5 separate regions of the Homo sapiens genome follow, and all the other regions are linked to region 1. Evidence: promoter capture Hi-C in 16 types of primary human blood cells and fetal thymus (Javierre and others, 2016). All regions are on one chromosome and are shown on one strand. Each heading gives the region's core, a stretch centred on a gene start or on the middle of the fragment in contact. The rest is flanking DNA. Distances are from core to core; before and after follow the strand shown.

Evidence for each region. The method cuts DNA at HindIII sites, captures the fragments that hold promoters and counts their contacts. A CHiCAGO score of 5 or more calls a contact.
Region 2: a fragment that was not itself captured here is called in contact with the fragment with the promoter of ATP6V1E1 in region 1 in 5 of 17 cell types (total CD4 T cells, non-activated CD4 T cells, endothelial precursors and 2 more); the score reaches 6.8 in total CD4 T cells.
Region 3: the fragment with the promoter of USP18 here is called in contact with the fragment with the promoter of ATP6V1E1 in region 1 in 1 of 17 cell types (erythroblasts); the score reaches 7.1 in erythroblasts.
Region 4: a fragment that was not itself captured here is called in contact with the fragment with the promoter of ATP6V1E1 in region 1 in 7 of 17 cell types (neutrophils, total CD4 T cells, naive CD4 T cells and 4 more); the score reaches 9.9 in neutrophils.
Region 5: a contact is called between a fragment that was not itself captured here and the fragment with the promoter of ATP6V1E1 in region 1, in 1 of 17 cell types (non-activated CD4 T cells). The highest score is 5.1, in non-activated CD4 T cells.

The regions. Positions count from the first base shown.
Region 1 is chr22:17,627,355-17,630,106 of GRCh38, reverse strand. It overlaps ATP6V1E1 (ATPase H+ transporting V1 subunit E1), which reads left to right and starts at 1,358. Exons shown (of 9, transcript NM_001696.4): 1 at 1,358-1,504. The coding sequence starts at 1,472. It also overlaps a transcript of BCL2L13 not described here. RefSeq lists enhancers at 1,233-1,402, 1,344-1,433, 1,514-1,663. The HindIII fragment of the contact is 8,319 bases long and covers 1-2,752 here.
Region 2 is chr22:17,115,102-17,117,857 of GRCh38, reverse strand. It overlaps IL17RA (interleukin 17 receptor A), which reads right to left. Exons shown (of 13, transcript NM_014339.7): 13 at 2,165-2,756. TMEM121B (transmembrane protein 121B) reads left to right here. Exons shown (of 1, transcript NM_031890.4): 1 at 1-1,561. Among named protein-coding and RNA genes, the nearest start is that of TMEM121B, 4.9 kb to the left of the region's middle. The HindIII fragment of the contact is 438 bases long and covers 1,130-1,567 here.
Region 3 is chr22:18,148,905-18,151,604 of GRCh38, reverse strand. USP18 (ubiquitin specific peptidase 18) reads right to left here and starts at 1,435. Exons shown (of 11, transcript NM_017414.4): 1 at 1,383-1,435. LOC124905076 (a long non-coding RNA gene) reads left to right here and starts at 2,391. Exons shown (of 2, transcript XR_007067999.1): 1 at 2,391-2,505. RefSeq lists an enhancer at 1,375-1,694. The HindIII fragment of the contact is 4,848 bases long and covers 1,137-2,700 here.
Region 4 is chr22:17,092,173-17,095,103 of GRCh38, reverse strand. The region is part of intron 1 of IL17RA (interleukin 17 receptor A); the gene reads right to left. It also overlaps the pseudogene RPL31P62. Among named protein-coding and RNA genes, the nearest start is that of IL17RA, 8.6 kb to the right of the region's middle. The HindIII fragment of the contact is 2,792 bases long and covers 69-2,860 here.
Region 5 is chr22:17,053,035-17,055,734 of GRCh38, reverse strand. The region is part of intron 3 of CECR7 (cat eye syndrome chromosome region, candidate 7); the gene reads right to left. Among named protein-coding and RNA genes, the nearest start is that of CECR7, 18 kb to the right of the region's middle. RefSeq lists an enhancer at 1-155. The HindIII fragment of the contact is 201 bases long and covers 1,274-1,474 here.

The sequences.
Region 1 (2,752 bases), core at 109-2,608:
GGCTGGGATTACAGGCACACACCACCACGCCTGTTAATTTTGTATTTTTAGTAGAGACTGGGGTTTCTCCATGTTGGTCAGGCTGGTCTCGAAATCCCGACCTCAGGTGATCTGCCCACCTCAGCCTCCCAAAGTGGTGGGATTACAGGCGTGAGACACCGCGCCTGGCCCGGGACAAAGGAAATTAATGTTCAGCCTAGTAAACTAAATTTCCTGAATTTGCTACATCCTCGTTCTTATGACACACTAAAATAGGAAGTGTGTGTGTGTGTGTGTGTGTGTGTGTGTATGAAAATAAAGTGTTAATGTACATGTAGCAAAATGTTAACAATTGTTGAATCTAGGTGAAGGGAGGTCAATGCAGTATTCTTACAAGTTACTATATCTCAAATTTCTTCAAGATAAAAAGCTAATAAAAATGGTGGGTAACCATAGCACAGTAAAAAGAAAAAAGTGGGTGTACCATTTGACCTCTTATTCTACTATTAGGAGTCAGTCTATCCTAAAGATAAAGGAATTTTCAAAAGTTTTTGCCTTTGGGATTTTGGGGAAAAAAACGGGCTTGAGGTAAATCCAAATAAAAACAAATGAGCCTGGGGGGATTTCTGTCCTAATATTCCTCTAAATGGGACCTGGGAAGGCTTTTGAAAAATATATAGGCTATCTCAGAAAAGTTCCAAATAAATTATGTAGCTGCTCCACCCTAATAAGGAAGTTGAGCATAGCTTCCCACTCCCTAGGTGTGGGCTTTGTATAGTGGCTTCCTTCCTAAGACTACAGTATGGAAAGGGGGTTAAAAAAGGTAACTTCAGAGTGGAGAAACCTACAAACCCTACACTTTATTCAGGTAATCAAGGTTGACATGAATAGTCAGAAATCATGTATCCCCCTTTTTTTTTTCTTTTGGTAGAGACGGGGTTCCTCTATGTTGTCCAGCCTGGTCTCGAACTTGAGGTCAAGCGATACACCCGCCTTGGTCTCCCAAAGTCTCCGGATTGCAGGCGTGAGCCACCACGCCCGGCCAACAATCATGTACCCCTAAGCCCATAACCCTGTGTAATTATGCGAAAAATTCCAATAAAGGCACATTCTCCAATATACCTAACCAGTACTCCTCAAAACAGCCCGACTAATTTCAGATAGAGGAACTCCTTATCTTTTCTTCCTCCTACCCAAGATCCCAGTTTAGGAAAAAAATACCGGTCAGGTCACGAGTCAGCGACGTAGAAGGACCCGAGGACGCGCCCACAGGCCGGGACAGGGCGGGACTTCCTGGGCGTCGCTCTCTTCCCATTGGCTGAGAAGGGTCATGAGGATGAACTGTGCAGTCACCTGGCAGGAACCGGAACCCGCGGTTATAAAGTAAAGGAACCCGAGATCTGCGCAGGGGTTCCCTTTGCCGATTTCTCTCACCTCACCTTTCAAACCTAAACTCGAGCCTACTGTTCACCGGCCTAGCATTGCTCTCGCCATGGCTCTCAGCGATGCTGACGTGCAAAAGCAGGTGAGGGGCTTGGTTGGGTCTTACGAAGCCGCGGCGGCAGTCCCGGGGAGTGGGCTGGAGCCCGCCTAGGGAAGGCCGCGGGCCTTGAGCCGCCCAGATGCCGCAGGAAGGTCCCTTGCTCCAAGTCACCAGATCCAAGAGGTCGGCCTGAGGACGGAGATTTGCCCCGCAGCTCATGTGACTTTTGCTCGGGTCTTGGGCACTGCCCGCTTGCCTGCGCGCTGCCTTCTTGAACGCCCTGGCTCTTTGCCTCCCACCTCAGCATTCCCTGTTTTCCAAGGGTATTCACTGTGCCTAGTCGGACAGAGATCTGTGCAAGGATTGAAAACAGCCTTGTGGCCAGGGGCAGTGGCTCACGCCTGTAATCCCAGTATTTTGGGAGGCCGAGGCGGCCGGATCACCTGAGGTCAGGAGTCCGAGACTAGCCTGGCCAAAATGGTGAAACCCCGGTCTCTACTAAAAATAGAAAATTAGCCGGACGTGGTGGCGCGCGCCTGTAATCCCAGCTACTCGGGAAGCTGAACCCGGAGGCGGAGGTTGCAGTTAGCCGAGATCGCGCCTTTGCACTCCAGCATGGGCGACAGGGCGAGACTCCCTCTGGAAAAAGAAAAAAAAAAAACAAACCAGCCTTGTCACTTTTTTTTTTTTTAACCCTGAGGGAAATGCTTAAGGCTATATGATAGGAAACAGTGCGGAGGGAAGAGACCTGCTTCCAACCAGTGTTTTGACAAGGTCGTTCACTTTATGAACTGTGTTTTTTTCTTTTTTTCTTTTTTTTTTTTTTGAGACGGAGTCTCACTCTGTCGCCCAGGCTGGAGTGCAAGGGCGCGATCTCGGCTCACTGCAACCTCCGCCCCGGGTTCAAGTGATTCTCCTGCCTCAGCCTCCCTAGAAGCTGGGATTACAGACTCGCGCCCCAAGCCCGGCTAATTTTTGTATTTTTTTTAGTAGAGGCAGGGTCTCACCATATTGGCCTGGCTGGTCTTGAACTCCTGACCTCAGGTGATCTTCCCACCTGGGCCTCCCAAAGTGCTGGGATTACAGGCATGAGCCAACGCGCCAGGCCTGTATGTACTGTTAATCTTCATTTTGGGGAAGTCCCCTCTATCATAATGGATTGTAATGATTGGTCTCCCACTAATGTGTGTGTTAACATTTGTGAGATACAGGCTGGGGCCGGGCATGGTGGCTCACGTCTGTAATACCAGCACTTTGGGAGGCTGAGGAGGGCGGATCACCTGAGGTCAG
Region 2 (2,756 bases), core at 99-2,598, 510 kb after region 1:
GTGACATATTTTTATTTCCTGGGCCTGTTTTCTCACATTAAAAAAGTAGAAGTTAGATGAGTGATCTCTAAGGTTGAAGGTAATTTCAGCTCTCACATTCTTTTGAGTTTGTGGCTCTTGAAAGCCCTGGTCCTGATGCTCCCTGTAAAGGTGGCTGGGAGAGAAGCCAGCCAGGCTGCACTTGCAGAACATTCCCTGCTCTGTACTGGGTGTGTGAAGCCCCAGCAGAGAAGGCCGGAGGGAGGGCTTGGGTGCCTGGGCTGGGTGTGGGGCAGGGCCTGGCACAGCTGCAGAGTGCACAGGGAGGGTCAGAAGTGCCAAGTCACTGGCCGTTAACTCAGCACCCAGGCCAAGCCCCCGCCTCCCACTTGAAGCCCCCTCTTACAACTGTTTTGGGGGCTTGGAGCAGAAGACACCCTTGTAGACAGACATAAGAGGGGCAGAAGGCTTGACCAGAGTTCTCTTGAGCCTCCTCATGCTCTCAGAGCAGGGAACAGCGGGGGAAAATGTTTACACTCCATGCACAATCTGTGCTTCCAGTCCCTCACCCTATGTGGCCCAATAGCTGGCTGGATTTCACACTTAATTGGTATTTTTTTCTGCCTTCTTCCCCTGCCCCCACTGACTCCTCTCCTCTCCCTTTGATTGTACTCAAGGTTCTGGGGCCTGGGCCCTGGGTGGGTACCAACAGCTGCTCGCTGTTCCCATGTCCTCTCTCCAGCTTTGCTGTGTTTCTCTGCTACCTAATCTCAGTGACTGTGAAAGGACATTGTGTCTGAGCCATGGCCAGCCGCTGGCTGGCCCCCTGATCTGCCCCCCTTCTATTGTTTGGATGGCCATCTCCTGCTGGGCCTCCCTGACTGTAAAATCTCTGTACTGTTTGTTAGGTTTTTGGTGGGAGGCTGTGATAAGTTCCAATGAGCTGCCACTTCCCTGGATATGTCAAGAAGCTGATGGCAACTTGGCCAATTCTGGCAGATATCAGGCCCCCAGTTCAGCCCCAGTCACCCTCTTTTACACATGTGGGTCAACCACTGTGTGCTCAGAGGGTCAGTCCCTTCCTCTGCTGTGTTTTTCTTGAGTCCTTGCACTCACTTCCCCTGCCCCAGTCACGATGACCCCTAAAGCTTCCTTTGCCCTTGCTTTCTAGGGCATCCCTAGTGAAGGGGCAAACCTGAGATTTCTCCGTGGACCTGACAGCCAAGGCAGGGCACTGTCTCCTGAGGCCAGTGCCAGCACGTGCATGGTTCACAGAAAAGGATCCTGGGCTCAGAATCTCGAGAACCGCCTGCTCCTAACAATTCAGCAAGTCAGGGGCTTCCTCTCTGTTAGTCCCCAAATCCTTACTTATTTTAAAAAGACTAGACCCTCTCTAAAGACTGTTCCATTTTAACATGTCCTGATTCTGCATCCGTGGGTTTTGTGAAAGAGAGCTAGCTGGCGGTTAGAGCCTGGAAGAAGGAGGGAAGTGGCACCTCACTAGCATTTATCACTTTTTTCCTTCTCTTTTTAAAAATAAAACCAGACTCTGTTCTGAAAATAAAAAACTTGAGACTTGTGACAAGCTTCCTGTGTGGTTTGTTTTAAGATCTTTTCTGTCCTGGTTTCCTTACAAAATTCTTAAATGTCACTGTGACATTCGCCATTATTTTATAAGTTTGTGTTAACATTATGGGTACACCTTGGCCCTTCTAGGCAGTTGGCATGTTTTTCAGGGAGGCAGTGAAGCTGTGGCCTGGAGCTGGTGAGTGTCTTGACATGCTTTGTTGGCACAGCCAGCTCAGCTCTAATGGACTCAGCCTGAGAACGATTTTTTCTCATCACCCTCGGCTCTCTCTCACTTTTCTTTCCTTCCTTCTTTCTTTTTCTTTGTTTTTGAGACAGGGTCTCACTCTGTCACCTGGGCTGGAGTGCAGTGGCGCCATCATAGTTCACTGCAGCCTCAACCTCCTGGGCTCAAACAATCCTCCTGCCTCAGCCTCCCAAGTAGCTGGGACTACAGAAGTGTGCCACCACGCCCGGCTTCCCATTTCTTTCTAAAAGAGTAGCTTTCCAAAGGGGGAACATCTTGAGAAACTAATTTTTAAATACTGTGCCCTCCTCTATCACTCTTGCCCCAGCCAGAAGCACAAATTCTTACGTATGAATAAGAAGAACAAGGCCATGGGTTTTTGTTTGGTTTTATTTTAACATGAAGGGTAGTATTAAGTCTAAGCAAGAACACTGGGCCTGCACCAAAATAAACAAACACACAGTGATTTTTTTTTTTTCTTAGCACAGAGGCAGCCAGTATTACACAGCCCCTCTCTGTGTTGTGACCCTAGCTTGCTGCTTCTGGCTGTGCCAAATGCTAAGCAGGCGTTTCACTCAGGGCAGCCCGGGAGGCAAGGTCTGAGAGTGGAAGCTCCTGGGAGCCTGAGCTCTCTCTGCCTCTCGTTAGCTGTGGCTTTGGCCATCAACTGGAACTATGTCATTATTTATAAAACAGGAGCAATCACAGGGCTGTGGTGAGAATCACATGAGGTGACACATGTGAAATGGTCCTTTCCCCTAAGACATATATAATTGTAACAAGGAACAAAATTTACATAGAAAATAATTACAGAACAACGTAGGACCATGTCTTCATTTCTCCCTGGAGCGGATGTAAAATAAGGTGATTGATTTGAGCAAGCATGTTATGAATATTTAGAAATGTCTTCTAGGGAAGCAAGCTGGCGCTCACCGATTTTGGTTTGCCAGGCATATCAGAAGGC
Region 3 (2,700 bases), core at 186-2,685, 520 kb before region 1:
GCATTTTCCCCTTTGTAAGCTCATCATTGTGTAAAAGTGTCAGAACTGTGCAACACATTTTTTAACAGTCCAAAAGCAAGTTCTTTGATAAATCAATATGAAGCCGTGCACCTGTGTTACTCTCCCTCCCGTTTTGTTCCTGCGAACACATCGGTAACCTGCATTCACTCTCCATCCAACTCTGTTCAATACCAGAAAGAAACTTCAGATGAAATGCTTTTCAGTATTTGCCTTGTTTTCTGGAACAACTTTAAAGTACAAATTATACCTAAATAAGTACAAATTAAAGCCTCTGCTTTAATTTTCAAACACTTTGAACCCAGATTTTCAGGGGTCTCAAAATGGAGTTTTGTGTTTAAAAGTCTAAATTTAGCTTTCTTCCAAGGAAAAGGGTGTGAAGAAGAGAGGTTAAGACTAAAATACTCTGATTTGCAGAGTTTGACAACATCCTTCCAATTTCTCAATATGAATGCCCACTGACCCAGCCATTCCACTTCTAGGAATTTTCCACCGATATATTTGTATGAATGTATACATAAAATTATATTCATTGCCGTATCTGTGCCAGTAAAAACTGGAAACAACCTAAATCTCCATGCATTGTTTAAACAATGTACTTCCCATACCATGTATCAGGTTTTTTTGTTTGTTTGTTTGAGACAGTTTCGCTCTGTCGCCCAGGCTGGAGTGCAACGGTGCGATCTCGGCTCACCGCAACCTCCGCTCCCGGGTTCAAGCGATTCTCCTGCCTCAGCCTCCCGAGTAGCTGGGATTACAGGCATGCGCCACCACGCCAGGCTAATTTTGTATTTTTAGTAGAGACGGGGTTTCTCCATGTCTGTAACTCCTGACCTCAGGTGATCCTCCCTCCTCGATCTCCCAAAGTGCTGGGATTACAGGCGTGAGCCACCGTACCCGGCCGAATCAGTTTTTTGTTTTATTTTTAATGCCATTAACACATCTATATGTCCTGCCATGAAAAGATGTCCATAATATACTCAGTGGACAAAGCAAGTTCGAAATGATTTTAAAGACTTGTACATAGAAACATTTCTGATAAGGTACAAACAAAAATGATACTGAGTGGAAGACTGCGAGACACATTTGTCTGCATTGTTTGAATTTTTTTACAAGCTTACAACACTTCTGCAATTTCTTTTTTTGTTTTAATTAAACACAAAGTCATGTCAAAAGTCCAAATAACTATATTAGCTTAGAAAAAAATTCACTGGCCCAAAATATATGCACGTAGTAAATACAGATCACTATCATAATTTGCAGAGCACAATTATTACTTAATTCCTTAATTATCTGACTGGCATAGGAGCAGAGTTGGATGTCTGTGCTAGAAAGAAAACTTCCAAAATGAGCCCCGAACTTGCCTCAAGCGCCATGCAAGCGTCCAGCCTCCGCTGCTGAGTTCCACGTCGGGACTGAGCCGGGGACCGAGCTGGGACCGAAGTTCCGCTCCGGGCCCGCCTTGGTCTGGCCCCGCGCTCGTGGCACCCCGCCCAGCTTTCGTTTTCCACTGAATGGAAAGCGAAACTTACAGCGGCCTCCGCGCCGGGAGCTGGGCGCCAGCGTGCGGGGAAACCCTGCCGGCCCGAGCTTCCCGCGGCTGCCGTTGCAGCCGCGCACCTGCTCCAGACTTCCAGCCCTCGCTTTTTTTTTTTTTTTTTTTTTTTGAGACGGAGTCTCATTCTGTCGTCCAGGCTGGAGTGCGGTTGCGCTGTCTCGGTTCACTGCAAACTCCGCCTCCTGGGTTCAAGCGATTCTCCTGCCTCAGGCTCCGGAGTAGCTGGGATTACAGGCATGCGCCACCACTCCTGGCTAATTTTTGTATTTTAGTAGCGATGGGGTTCCGCCATGCTGGCCAGGCTGGTCTCAGGTGATCCGCCCGCCTCCTAAAGTGCTGGGATTACAGGTGTGGGCCACCGCGCCCGACCTACAGGCGCCTTTTTATTTGCGATTTTAAGGTCCTTGCAATTAGCCTACGTGTTAGAGTCATTTGGCGTTTGGTAGTATCCATGGCAGCATTTTTTCTTTCTTAATGCTATTGTATTTCTTGGATCGGGTGTCTTCACATCACCGGCCTGTGGCTTGGATGCGGCACATGGTGTAATTAGGAGCTCCCCTGTGGGCATGCAGATACAGATATTTCTCCACTTAAGAAGGGGTCAGGGGGCGCGGTGGCTCACACCTGTAATCCCAGCACTTTGGGATGCTGAGGCAGGCGGATCACCTGAGGTCAGGAGTTCGAGACCAGCCTGACCAACATAGTGAAACCCCATCTCTACTAAAAGTACAAAAATTAGCTCGGCGTGGTGGCGCTTAATCCCAGCTACTTAAGAGGCTGAGGCAGGAGAATAACTTGAACCCAAGAAGCGGAGGTTGCAGTGAGCAGAGATCGACAAGAGCAAGACTCCGTCTAAAAAAAAAAAAAAAAAATGGGGTCAAGTCCCAGTGAACCCATCATGAAGTCGAAACATCGTAAGTGAAACCACGGTAAGTGATGGACCATCTGTGTATATATAAGGTTAAGAGATCTGTAACATGCACACCGGAAAGGCTTATTACCTCTTTAGAGATGTATTTCTTGTATGTAGACTCATGGGGGTAGGGGCAGAAGGGTTATCTGCTAGGGGCCTCAAACTCCAGCCGCTGGAATTTGCGCAGGAAAGCAGGGTACAATTCCCCCAA
Region 4 (2,931 bases), core at 215-2,714, 540 kb after region 1:
GTTCATAAATGAGATTGGTCCATAGTTTTTCTTTTTGTATAAGATTTGTCAAGTTTTAGAATTAAGCTTATACTAGCTTTAAAAAAAATGGACAGCTTTCCCTCTTTTTCTGTGGTACTGAATGGTCATCAATAGAGAATGGCTGAATTAAGGTGAGATCTAGTTTAAATCTAAATGTCCATCAAACTAGAAATGGTTGAATAGATTGCTATCTACTATGGAATATTATGCAAATATTAAAGAGAATGAGAATTAGTTGCATAGACATCTGTTGACCTGCAGATGGCTGGAATGTGTTGATGAGAGAGGAAAATAAGTTTCAAATAACTTTTTATAGTATGATCCCAATTTCTATGGAAATAAGTCATGAAAAAGATCTCCCTGAATATATATATATATATATATATATATAGAGAGAGAGAGAGAGAGAGAGAGAGAGAGAGAGAGTGTGTGTATGACTAAATGAGAATAGAAACATGTTAACAGGTGTTAACACAGTTTGCTGGGGGCAAAGGGCACACAAGCAGAGGAGATGGCATGAGGGAAGATAAGGGGAAAAAAGATTTAATCAAAACTGAAAAATATACATATAGGTGAAATATAGAATAACAATTCTATTAGAGGTAATAGCGCATTGACCATATACACATATTTTCTCCCTCTCTCCAAACAATATAACAATTATAGGAAAGAACATTTTTTTTTGTAAATTCTCAAACTCAAAGAGCCAAACTCAGTGGACAAAAGATGTGAACAAAATTTTAAAAGTCCTTTCCAACTTGGCCCCAGCAGCATAGCTCCTGTAAAGAAGAGTGTTGGCTGGGCGCAGTGGCTCATGCGTGTAATCCCAGCACTTTTGGGAGGCTGAGGTAGGTGGATCACCTGAAGTCAGGAGTTTAAGACCAGCCTGGCCAAGAGATGGTGAAACCCTGTCTCTACTAAAAATACAAAAATTAGCTGGGTGTGGTGGCATGTGCCTGTAGTCCCAGCTATTTGAGAGGCTGAGGTGGGAGAATTGCTTGAACCTGGGAGGCAGAGGCTTCAGTGAGCCAAGACTGTGCCACTGTACTCTATCCTGGGCGACAGAGCGAGACTCTGTCTAAATAAAATAAAATAAAATAAAATAAAGTAAGATAAAATAAAATAAAAGGGCTATTCTGTCACCTGCCACCAATGAGGTGGTGACACCAGAATATGCCATCAGCATCCACAAGCACACCCATGGAGGGGACGTCAAGCAGTGTGCCCCTTGGTCACTCAAAAAGTCCCAGAACTTTGCCATGAAGGAGATGGGGACTCCAGATATGCTAACACCAGGCTCAACAAAGCTGTCTGGACCAAAGGAATAAGGAACGTTCCATACTGTGTCCATGTGCAGCTGTCCAGAAAGCATGAGGATGAAGATTCACCAAGCAAGCTCTATACTTTGGTTACCTGTGTACCCATTACCACTTTCAGAAACTGACAGTCAGACATTGTGGATGAGAACAAACTGTTGATGTCAAATAAAATTATAAAACCTCAAAAATGAACAAATGAATGAATAAATAAATAACTGTCCAAGTGGCAGCAGAGTAGGCAGCTGGCTTGTGCTGAGTGGAGGAACTTCTGTCTGAATGCTACAAAAGGGAGTTATTGATAAGGAGGCCAGGGGCCCCTCAGAACCTTATAACGTTCAGGGCTTAGGGGCAGGGAGAATTAAGTGAAGGTCTACATATGGAGTGTTGGGAACCTTATCCTCTCTTTCCGTGCTCTGATCTCAGAATGCTGGCAGCCAGGCCCAAAAAAAACACCTCCAGATTTCAGCATTTGGAGGTCACCCAATAGGCCAGGTTCACGATTAGCTTGACCTCCTATACAGTGAAGTCCAATGTTCAATAAACCTTAACTACACAGAGCATTTAATCAGCTTTTAGGACTTCATTCTTAAAATATTCTCAGACAGCCAAGGAGTACCAGATATTTGAGATAGGTTTTCTGTATGAAAAATAGATCAAAACAATTAAAAAATGCTCCTGGAAGGAAAAAAAAAACAATGCTGTTAACACAATTAAACCAAACAAGTAAAATTATTATAGCCCCGAAGAGATACAACACTGCATCTGTAAGACAGGGGCAGGACACCATGGACAAATGAGCAGGCAGAGAATGAAAACTGAACCTTGAAACTCAATAGAAGTTCTACTAAATAAAAATTCAATAGAAGGGTTAGTCTATGAAATTGAGGACATTTCTCTGAAAGCACAAATAGAATAGGAAAAAATATATGATCATTAGAGATTCAATTTAGGAAACAAAATATGATTGACTAGATTTCTAGAAGGAGATTAACAAAAAAACAGAAGGAAGAAGTTATTTTTTAAAAAAGGAAAGAAAGAAAATATTCTGGAAGAGAAGGACACATATTCCCCGAGAGTGTGGAAAAACTCAAGCTGTATTTTTCCTCTGCCCTCACATCACCACAACAATCAACAGAAGTCACAGAAGACTTCTGTGACTACATATTGGCGGGGGGTGGTTTCTTCCCACCACCAAGCAAGCAATCAATTCGGCAGCAGACACCAGCTGGGTATCCTCCAATTTAATTCTGACACTATTTGGAGATAGCATCAGATCCCACAGGTTGAGTGCTCAGTCCCCAAGACCGCCCACCCCCTAGACACCAGTGGTAAGTCTGGGCCTCCAGAACTTCTAAGACCAACCGGGTTCAACGTGAGATTCTCATGCTCCTCTCTTTCAGTTCAATTAATTTGCTAAAGCTGCTCAGAGAACTCAGGGAAACACATTTCCCAGTTTATTTTAAGGATATCACAAATAATACAGAAGAAAAGGTGAGGTATAGGAGAAGGAGTACAAAGCTTCCATGCCCTCCTCAGGTGTGCCACCCTCCAGGAACCTCCACATGTTCCACTACCTGGAAGCTCTCTGAAC
Region 5 (2,700 bases), core at 125-2,624, 570 kb after region 1:
AGTAGGGCTGGCTCTTGGGAGGGTCTTCATGGTGACTGAGGCCATGGATCCTTTGCACTGTTCCTTGAATTCACTTGGCACTTAAATTCTCATCCTGAAATGATGCTTTGAAAGTGATGCTTGCAGTCAATTATGGGTTCACTGTATTATGGATTCCTAACACCCAATACCTGGCACATAAGAAATGAATGAAAAATAGTGAATGAATGAGTGAATGAACTCAAGTATGCCTACAAGGTGAGAGGAAAGTGATCCTACTTACTAGGTGTGCTAGGAAGGCATTTGGGACTGTTGGCTTTGCTGTTGCATAGTAAGCCTGGGGCTCTGAAGGCTGGCATTTCCTCATTCTAAACCCCAAATTTCAATAAATTACCACCAAGTGGACAAAGGTCCATGGGCCAGAGCTCTTAGTGTGAATAACATACCTTTTTTGGATGTGATTAATGGACGGGGAGTATACAAAACTAAAAACAATGTGTACTGACTACCTGTAAGCCATGGTTATAAAGCACTCTGTATACATGATCTTATTCAATGCTTGCTACAAACCCATGAAGTGGATTTTCAGACACACTTTCTATTCTGGAGCATTTTAAACAAGAGGCTAGCGTAGTGAGCTTTCACCTACTCATCAGCGGATTCAGATATTTGTCATCTCGTGGCCAATCTTGTTTCATGTACACTCCTGCATGCTTCTCCTCTTCCTCTCGTTATTTTATAGCAAATCCCACATATCATATAATTTCCTCCCTGAATGTCTTGGTATATGTCTGTAAAAGATAAGGATTCTTGTTTTGTTCTTTCAAGACAAGGCCTCTGTCGCCCGGGCTGGAATTCAGTGGCACGATTATGGCTCACTGTGGCCTTGACCCCTCCTGCCTCAGCTTCCTAAGTAGCTGGGACTATAGACCCACACCCCCATGCCCAGCTAATTTTTAATTTTTATTTTAGTAGAGACAGGGTCTTGCTATGTTGCCCGGCTGGTCTAGAATTCCCAGCTTCAAATGATCTTCCTGCCTCGGCCTCCCAAAATACTGAGATTACAGGTATGAACCACTTTCCTGGTGACAAGAACTCTTTTAAAAACATAATCCCAATACCATGTTCAACCAACCATCCCACACCATTGCTCTTTAATATTGTCAACTCCCCTGCTAGCTCCAAATTTCCAGTAATTTCATATTTTTTTTGTTTGTTTGAATCAGGATCCAAATAAAGTCTCTCTTTTGGATTGCTTCATTCGTATCTTAGCTTTTTTTTGATCCTGAAAGCTTCCCCACTTGATCTCTTTTTTGTCTCTTGCAGTTTATTTAATAAATTAGGCAGTTTCCCCATAGTTTGGATTATGCTAACTGTATTCTCATTATGCTATTTCTGGTAGTTTGAATTTGGCTAATTGTATCCTTGTGATGTTGATTAACTTGTTCTTCACTTTGTTCTAGTTTTGATAAATTAGTAGTTTGATCTGAAAGCTTGATCAGATTCATGTTGGATTTGAGGGGTCAAGGCAAAAAGACTGTGCTAAGTTCTTCCAGCAGGAGGTGTGTACTCTCTGGCCACCTTTTTTTTTTTATAATGTTAACAGCCAGTGATCAATTATGGATTGAACAATGATGGTATTGTTATATCATTCCTTCTTCATTTATGAGCTGCCATACTTCCAGAAAGAAATATTGCTACCCTGAGAAGGGCCTTCCATGAAGAAAAAAAAGTAAATATAAAAAAGAGATGCAGCTTCTTATAAATTATTGTGCTACCCAGTTGTACAATTTATATAGAAAAGGCCAGTTAGTGGCTTGATTTGTTCTTTTTGTTTACCATTTTTCAAAATGATGGTCTGCTTCATTTATATCCTTTGATGGTGACTACTTTTATTTGTTTATTTATTTAGACAGGGACGGTCTAGCTCTGTTGCTCAGGCTGGCATGCAGTGGGACAATCATGCCACCACAGCCTCAAACTTCTGTGCTCAGGCAATCCTCCCATCTCAGCCTCCTGAGTACCTGGGACCACAGACATGGGCCCTTAAGCCTGAGTAATTTAAAACATTTTTTGTAGAGACAGGGTCCCCCTGTGTTGTCCAGGCTGGTCTTGAACTCCTGGGCTGAAGTGATTCTCCTGCCTCGGCCTCCCAAAGGCATGAGCCACTGTCCCCAGCCCACATTTATTTATTTATTTATTCTTTTTTTTTGAGATGGAGTCTTGCTCTGTTGCCCAGGCTGGAGCGCAATGGCGAGGTCTCGGCTTACTGCAACCTCCACCTCCTGGGTTCAAGTGATTCTCCTGCCTCACCCTCCTGAGTAGCTGGGATTACAGGCATGCACCATTACACCCAGCTAATTTTGTACTTTTAGTAGAGATGCGGTTTCACCAGGTTGGCCAGGCTGGTTGCGAACTCCTGACCTCGGGTGATCTTCCTGCCTTGGCCTCCCTAAGTGCTGGGATTACAGGCATGAGCCCTTGTGGCTGGCCAACCCACTTTTATTTTTTATAAAGAATCATTATGAATGCAGACATTCAAACACATTTGATGTATTTCAATCCACTGCAATTATTATCCTTATTAATGTATAAAATGTCCTATCTTTGGTTAGAAGGAGTCCCTTCAGATTGGCTCTTCAGACGTGTTGAAAGCATCCTAATCTTTGATAGATTCCTTGCTATCCAGAGTGACAGTGTTCCAGGCTTATCTTATACATT